2 separate regions of the Homo sapiens genome follow, and region 2 is linked to region 1. The links are contacts of gene promoters, found by promoter capture Hi-C in human tissues and cell types (Jung and others, 2019). All regions are on one chromosome and are shown on one strand. Each heading gives the region's core, a stretch centred on a gene start or on the middle of the fragment in contact. The rest is flanking DNA. Distances are from core to core; before and after follow the strand shown. Region 1 holds the start of ADRA2A (adrenoceptor alpha 2A). Region 2 has its middle 260 kb from the start of HEAT2.

The links. Contacts are between HindIII fragments. The study calls those that stand out against the background at their distance.
Region 2: a fragment that was not itself captured here is called in contact with the fragment with the promoter of ADRA2A in region 1 in 1 of the 25 tissues and cell types used here (H1 embryonic stem cells).

Annotation. Positions count from the first base shown.
Region 1 is chr10:111,074,480-111,078,351 of GRCh38, reverse strand. It overlaps ADRA2A (adrenoceptor alpha 2A), which reads right to left and starts at 1,323. Exons shown (of 1, transcript NM_000681.4): 1 at 1-1,323. The coding sequence starts at 355. RefSeq lists a silencer at 1,311-1,360. The HindIII fragment of the contact is 8,357 bases long and covers 1-3,872 here.
Region 2 is chr10:111,377,051-111,381,308 of GRCh38, reverse strand. No RefSeq gene overlaps it. Among named protein-coding and RNA genes, the nearest start is that of HEAT2, 260 kb to the right of the region's middle. The HindIII fragment of the contact is 5,148 bases long and covers 152-4,258 here.

The DNA.
Region 1 (3,872 bases), core at 74-2,573:
CCTTGCCGAAGTACCAGTAGCCCATGACCTCGTTGGCCAGCGAGAAAGGGATGACGAGCGTGGCCACCAGGATGTCGGCCGAGGCCAGAGACACCAGGAAGAGGTTTTGGGGCGCCTTGAGCGCGCGGCTCGTGAACACGGCGATGATGACGAGCACGTTGCCGAACACGGTGAGCAGCATGAGCAGGCCGGCCAGGCACACCAGCGTCAGCGTCACCTGCAGGGAGTAAGGGGTGGCCCGGGCGCCGCCCCCCGGCGCCTCGGTCCCGTTCCAGCTCGCGTTGCCCGCGTCCGGCTGCAGGGAGCCCATGGGCGCAAAGCTGCCCTCGGCCAACGGCTGCTCCTGGCGGAACATGAACGCGGGCGCCCGCTGGCCTGGGCCTGCTGCCAGCTGCCTTCCGGCCCGGCGCCCGTGGGTCCTCCTCTTCCTCCGGCGCCCCGCTCGCCTGGCTGCGGCTCACATAGGGAGGGGGCCGCAGGGAGGCCGGGCCCGAACTGGAGGACCGCTAGCGGCCCATGGCCCGGGTCCCGCGAACTGCGCCTGGCTCGCGCTTCAGACGCTCTCGGTGGGCGCCTTCTTGCTCCGAGCTCCTAATACAGCCAAGTTTTATTTCTAAGCGGCGGGAGAGAGTAGGGAGAGCCGATGGGTAAAGAGAGATTTATTCTTCAAGAAGGGAGAACAAAAATCATCGGTGGCCTGATAACTTGGAAGGATGACAGGAAATTAAATATATATATACATATCAATATCTGTATCTTGAATCTTGAGCCTGAGCGAAAGCAAGAGGTCTTACCGTGTGCGGGGCCCGCCCCCACCCCGGGAGGCAGCCGAAGGGTGCTGATGCGAGCTCGGGGGTCCTATGTCTGTCGCCTTACATCCCCGAAGCGATTACCGACTCTCTGGCTTCCCCCAGACGCTGCGGTTCTGGCCCGGCCCGGCCCGGGGCTGGGGCGCGGACTCTGCCGCCTCTCGGAGCGCCGCGAGACTTCCAAAGTTGTGCGCCCTGCTGGGGCTGGGGCACACTGTGCGGAGCTCCGGGACGGCGGCGGCGGCGGGGTGAGGAGTGTGGGGGCCGCATGAAGGCACCCCCGTCCTCAGGCGGGCCGGGGCAGGTGAACGATCAGCTCTCCAGGAGCCGCGACGGAGGCAGGGGTTCTCCTGGGCGTCCGCCTGGTGGGCGCCGAGCGCTGCTGGATGGGCCGGGGTCCGACGACAGCGCGAGTTGGGGCAGGAGCGCAAGGCGGGGAAGAAGGCGCTGGAGTGGCCGGGCGGCGGCACGCCGGCTGCTGGGCTTCTGCACCGAGCTGGAGCTGCTGCTGCTCCGCTGCGCTCACGGTGGACTCGTTTTATAGCCCCAGGATCAAGCAAGCGTTGCTGAGCAGCCGGCGTCAGCCCCCACGTGGGAAGCCGACCCTCCCCCGCCCCTCGCACCACCCCTCCGCCAGTCTAGCGCCCGCGCCTAGCGCTGGACCTCGGGGAGCGTTGCCCTCAGGCGGGACGAGCCCTTTGGAGAGGCGGGTACCTTGAGCTAGAGACTTAAAGAGGGAGCCCGGGGGTGGGGGGTAGGGGAGGAGCGGCCCCTGCTGGGAGTTGGCCATGCAGCTCCGGGCCGACGGAGCAGAACGCAACGGGCACCCGTGAGTGCCCCCAAGAAGCTGGATCTTGGGAGAAAAGGGAAGAAAAAAATGGAAGGGAATCCCCGCCCAAATCGAGGGAAGTAACCTCCGGTGTGAGTTACGTCTGGAGCAGCCCAGCTCCGGGCCAGAGCCGACGCGGTCCGCAGGTGCTCCTGGAGGCTGGGGAGAAAGGGGTCCTGGAGAGGGAGGAAGGCGCGGCTTCGGATGGAACCCCTGGGGCGGAATGGACAGCACCCACGGGGAAGTGGTACAAGCCGGAGTTCAGACCTCCGCTTAGGGAAGAAGCGGCTACGTGTCCTCCCAGCCGCGATGCTGTCTGCGGGAAACGCAAGACCCGGGGTCTGGACCGCGCCCCCTTAGACCGAGGTGGGGAGGGGTCCAGGAGCCGAGCGCCAGGGCAAAGCGAGGACGCACTGACACCTGCTGGCCGCTCGTGGTCACGGCTGAGAAGCGACCCGCTGACGCCAGGCGCCTCCTCCCGTCTCTTAGGTCTTCTGCCAACAGAGCCTTCTCCTATCTCCGAACAAATTGGTTTCTAAGCTCAGGAAAGGAGAACCCAGAGTTTGAATTGCACCCTGCCGTGTTGCAGAAATCTTCCTAAAGCAGATACTCGTGTGTCTACCCCTGGCGGGAGTGGGGGTTTGTCTAATAAAGTCACATCAGGAAGGGCTCAGCAGGCACCGCCGGCCAGAACGGGCATCCCACTCTGGACCCGCACAGCCCACCCTTCCTGCAGATCCGAGAGAGGCCAGGATCCTGCCTCCTTGGTTGCACAGCTCTGGCTTGCTGGGAATCATTATGTTTTTGTTGAGGACCGAAAGCTAGACTCCACTCCCGCCCCGCATCCCACCCCCATTCAGATGTACACACAGCATCCTTCAATAAGGGGAAGAGGGAGTAGAATATTTTCCATGTTCTCTCTGATAAGAATAGCGGTGGGGGCGGGGGGGAGTGGGTGTGCGGCGAATGGCAAGTTTTTCCGTGCGTGCTAGCTGTCCTAGGATAGATTTTAACGGTCACTAGAGCACTAGCTTGCACCCTGCTAGCTGCACTTTTCAGATGAGAGCAAGCAGTTTAATGGTAAAACCCAAGAGGGTAGGAAATTTCAGCAGGAGAGAGATTAGACTTAAAGGAATGTCGTCTTATTTAAGGAACCACTAAACCAAAATGCCTTGTGCAGTCACCTAAGTTGGAATTCCAAGGATGGAACAGGCTGCCTCTCTGTGCAGCCAGCTGCAGGCTTAGGTCTGGCTGGGGGCTGATGGCTAAATTAAGGGCCCTGAGAATCACCTTCATTCCCAGCTGATGTCTATAGCCCGCACCAGTGATACAGTTATTGGTGCTGCTGCTGTTCATGTAGTCTCAAAATCTGTACTTTCCAAAGTATTTCACAGAAGTCTCATTTGACTTCAGTACCTTTGTCTCCCAATCTTTGCCCTAATGGTATAAACTCCCTTTCCAGTGTTAGTTCTGAGGAGCCTTTCTAATCTCCCTTTCTGGACAATCTAAAGGAAGCTGAGAAGACAATTTCCTCGCTCTGTTGAGTCACTCATTTTCCATCTTCTACTAAAGTCTCTGCTCTGAGGCTCTTGGCAGGGGCTTTGGACATCGCCAGTAGGCTCAGTTGGAAACATGGCTACAGTCATTTTTGCACAGCAACTAGGAACCCCACACTTCAAGTATGAATACTAAGAGACAAAAATCAGAGCCCGTGGCAATCTGGGGTTTGCTGTGTTGCTGTTTGTAGAACTCGGGAACTGAGTCTTAGGAGACCATCACTTACCATCTGCACCCCAGCTTCCAACACACTGCTCTTCTTCCTAATTTCAGAATCAAAAGAGGAAATAAAAACAAAGTTTACAGTAATTATCTTTCTTGAAATTTCTGCTGCTAGCCTGTGTATGACACCTCTTGTCATATTTTCTAAATGCTTCCCAAACAGCCAGGTGGTTTCTTAATTCCCTGATTTGGAGTCTTTTCTCCTAAAATGGGAACAGGTCTTTTCAGAGCCAGGAACCCTGAGGCCAATACACAACGAATACCAATAATAACAAGTGCTGCATTTTATTAAGTACCATGATGTATGCACCATGTGTAGGGTGATATACATGGCCCCTTTATACACAGAGTTCTTATTCCTGTCACATGTTCCTTATCACCAAAGGTTCTGCCTCCTCAGTTTGTCACACAGGGTCAGTATCTCTGAGCTTTGAAAAGCTATGTGGACACCATTA
Region 2 (4,258 bases), core at 1,476-3,975, 300 kb before region 1:
CCTGGGCAGGGGCATAGCCAGCCATGGAAGTCTCCAGCTGGTGCAGGTGCCAAAAAAATCTTGCATCAATAGGTCCTCCATAAAAGAAAGTCCCAGACTGAAATCATAGCCTCAGAGATGTACCCTGACTTTGCCTGCTGTTTGCCTTTCAAGTGGATCCCCAATCTTATCCTCCAACTCCCCACTTTACCCATTTAATCTTGTCCTTCTCTTCTTTGCCTCAGAACCAGATTTCTTCCTTTGCCCTAAGATCAGAGGCCTCTTTGTGATGTTCTCTGGATGGAATCCACATTACAGAAGCTCATTTGATTGCATATTTTGTCCTGATCACCTCCTTGGCTCTCTACTTTTCTGTTAACACCAACTTGGGTTGCCCTCTTGCTATAAACTACCATAATGAATCACCTCTAATTTAGTTCTAGTCAAACCCATTCCTGATCTGATGTCCTTCACTTACTAAAAAGGGGAGTAGAAAATCTTCAACTCTTCTCTCCAGACGTACCTCCTGCTTCTCATTAGCACATGGCCGGTACTCCAGCCACACACTTTCTTCCAATAAATCACAATTCTACCCAATTGCAAGCCATTGCTCAATCTATTCTATCTCACTGGCTGAAAACATCCCCTTTCCTCCCCTTCATCTATCAAAATTTTATTTATCCTCACAGTGAAGCTTAATCCCAACCTCCATCACAAATTACTTCCCAGTAACTCCATGTTCAGCCTACTGATACTGACTTCCTAAAAAATGCATCTAAAACATGTTGCTTTCTGTTAAGTAGCCAGTGGTTTCTAGAACTAGAACTGAAAACACTGGGTAGATTCTAGTCTGTAACAAGCATTGCCTCTTTCTTGAGCAGCTCACTGTCTATAAGGAGGCGGGAAAGACACACACACACACACACACACACACACACACGACATTTGTGTGCACAAAACAACAAAAGGTTTAAATAGTCACTGACACAGAATTGTGCCAAGTTTTTGTGTGTTTCCTGGGAAGAGAAGAAATACCTTGGCGCAATAAGAGGACAGAATCAAGAGAAATGCCAGGGAAATTATTGCTCCTAGAATGCTTCAATCAGAAACTAACAAGCAAGAGTTACCAGAAACACAAAGGATTAAAAACCAAAAGAAATATAAAGTTTAGGTACCAAGCACTGTCTCTCTACACCATTTTCTTCCCATTCTGTTCCATGGGGGTGGGGGGGTCTTAGCTCACTTGTTTGGAAACAGCTATATAGTGCCTTGGTGTGACCCACTTCTCACTCCTTGATCCTCTGCCTTTGATCAATTGGAGCTGAGTAGAGGGAGGTGATTCTAGCTGGAGTTATGAGCCTCCCAGCCCTCTCACCCTGCCACACTCACATGCAGCAGTTAGCAATTTGAAAATGAAGGATGATGTAATAAAATTGTCAGTAAGTCAAAATCTCTATTAATTATAACATTCCAGGTAGCAATGGCTAGATTAATCATGCTGCATAATAGTTTTTACTGAAGGCACTGTCAAAGCCAGGAATATCTTCTGAATCTTCAAAAACAATTCCTCCTCCATTCACTCTGCTCCAGGCACATCCGCCTTCTTGCAGCTACTCAAGCACTCCAGGCACACTCGGATCTCAGAACAATTGAACTTATTGTTCTCCCTGCTTGGATAGAGCTAGCTTGCTCATGTTCTGTGCTAGATATTCTCTGTTCTTTATCCCTCCATATCACTTTCCACTGCTCAGTCTCAAGAGGCTGACCTCTATGGACAGCATCATCAAGCTCCTCTGCCTTCTGATTTCTGGTTGAGTTCAACCAATGGGAAGCATTGACAAGAATTAGGCATAAGGAAGAAAGAAGGTTGGGGCATTTCCTCCTCAACTCCCTCTCTTCCAGCCTCAATTTTGCAGTGGCTGTGTTGCTCCATTGAAGGCACAGCTCATGCCAAGCAAACCCTCTCCAACGGCTATAATGGTCACTGAGTACCTTCAAGCCTTGGTGGCTACAGTTTTTGAGGGCTTCACCTTGCTTCCTACATTTCCTTCCTAGGTATTCTTATTTTTGGGGAACCATCTTTTCATTAAACTCCATTGAGACACTCATTTGAGTTAGTCAACCATTTCCTACAGAGACTGCCTAATATACCGTCTTCAAATCTTGGTACAAATGTGAATTACTCATGAAGTCTTCCCTTACTACTCTATTAAAAACTGTAGTTCTTCTGTGAAATAGTTCCCAGAATCAGACCTAAAGATCTAGAGGAAAGGGAAGGTTTTAAGATCTGCGTACCAGGCTGGGCGTGGTGGCTCACACTTGTAATTCCAGCACTTTGGGTGGCTGAGGTGTGCAGATCATGAGGTCAGGAGCTTGAGACCAGCCTGGCCAACATGGTGAAATCCCGTCTCTACTTAAAAAAAAAAAAAAATTAGCTGGGCATGGTGGGTCACACCTGTAATCCCAGCTACTCAGGAGGCTGAGGCAGGAGAATTGCTTGAACCTGGGAGGCAGAGGTTGCAGTGAGCCGAGATCATGCCACTACACTCTAGCCTGGGCAACAGAGTGAGACTCCATCTGGAAAAAAAAAAAAAAGATGTGAGTACCAGCTAATGAAGCATTATTGTCAGCTTGTGTCTCCATTTCCAATGGGAAGGGAGGACATGAGGTCAACAGAGAGCAAGAAAAATTGAGGCAGGACCTCAAGAATATCTTGAGGACCATGAGGATTGGCAGACACAGAAGAGTGTTATGAGAGAGGATGTGGAGTTTCTGGGAAGTAACCCCTAAATCAGAACCTTCTATTCTACATGTGGAGAGGCTCAGTGGGAAAATGTCACCCTGGTGGAAAGATCTTTGGTATATATATGCCCACTGAGGTCAAGAAAGCATCCAGTAAACCATCTTAATTGAGGTTTCAGACTGAGCAGAGGGGCTCTTTTAGAGGAAGAGTCAGAAGGAGGAGATGAGTTTACTCGCATTCCCGAGGAAGCCACTTCTGGAGTGTGGAGCACACTCTGATTGCCATTTAGCTTCTCAAAACCTGAAAAGTGCAGCTCAGAGACCACGTGTCTGAGAGCATGGAAAAGTCTGGAATATCTCAGGTTCATTAGTTTGTTACACCTCATCTCTCCCCTACATTGATCAGAAAAGATCCTATGGGCTTCCTTCTGGGCCAACAGGAGGTATTTTTGTTAACTGCACCCCTCCCTACAGGCCTTTGTGCTGGAAAGGACAGAATCCCTAGAGACAGTTACCAAGGAGTGAGAGAGCAGGGGAAGTACACGTGTAAGAAGCCCTAGTAACCAGAGATGTGCAGAGATGAAAATAAAGGTAGGCAGGTGTCTCCTGTTTTTCAGCTAGAGTCTTGTTTTGAAGAGCCTCTTTAAGAACATTCCAGTCTTCTAAACATATAAGGATACAAGCCAAGAAAATCCATCAAAAATTTAAAATTACAAAAGAATCTTTAAAGAAGTGACAAACTTGATTGATCCTTCTCTTTCTCCTCTTTGTATAAGGCTCATCATTGTGCTCTTCTAAGACCAGACAAGGGATACCAAGTTCCCAAGCATGCATGCATTCATGCATCCACATATCCAGCTGATGTTTATTAAATATTTACCATGTGTCACACACCGTGAGAGACACTAACGGTCTATTGGTGAACAAAATGGACAAACTCTGTACCTCCATGGAACTTATAGACTTGTTGGAGGTCATAGACATTTTTGTCTGTTTTTTTAATATAAGATAAATTGTTAAGAAAATGATATTGTAGTAAATATTTACTGTTTTCCTTTGCCTGAAATCAATTTTTCCTTTGGATAATTGCATTCCTCTCCCATTCTCAGTCCCTGTCATTTGGGGAGGCTTCTATTCTCAGATTCTAGGAGTAGGCAGAAAGCCCAGGATTGGTCAAAAAGAGTTTAGCTTTGAGGACTAAGCTCTGATTTTTTTTTTTTATCTTGCCCAAATCCCTATCTAAGGGGTCTGAGGAGTCATGTCCTACAAACCACAAATTCTCATCAGATGTTTTTTATTTAACCCTGTATATCATGACTTACTTTCCAATCTGACTCTGGCATAAAAGAAAGTAAATAAAATTATTTTACCCCAAAACATGTTTCTCTGTCATTATCTTGAAATGACCCTAAAAGGCATCCCTTGTTGGGAAAAATCCACCTTCTATAGAGAATCCCCCTTCCCCCCACTTTTTTTTCCTTCCTTCATTTCCAGATGCAGGAGATAATCAACTAAGAGCCAGGCACCCTTTTAAGTC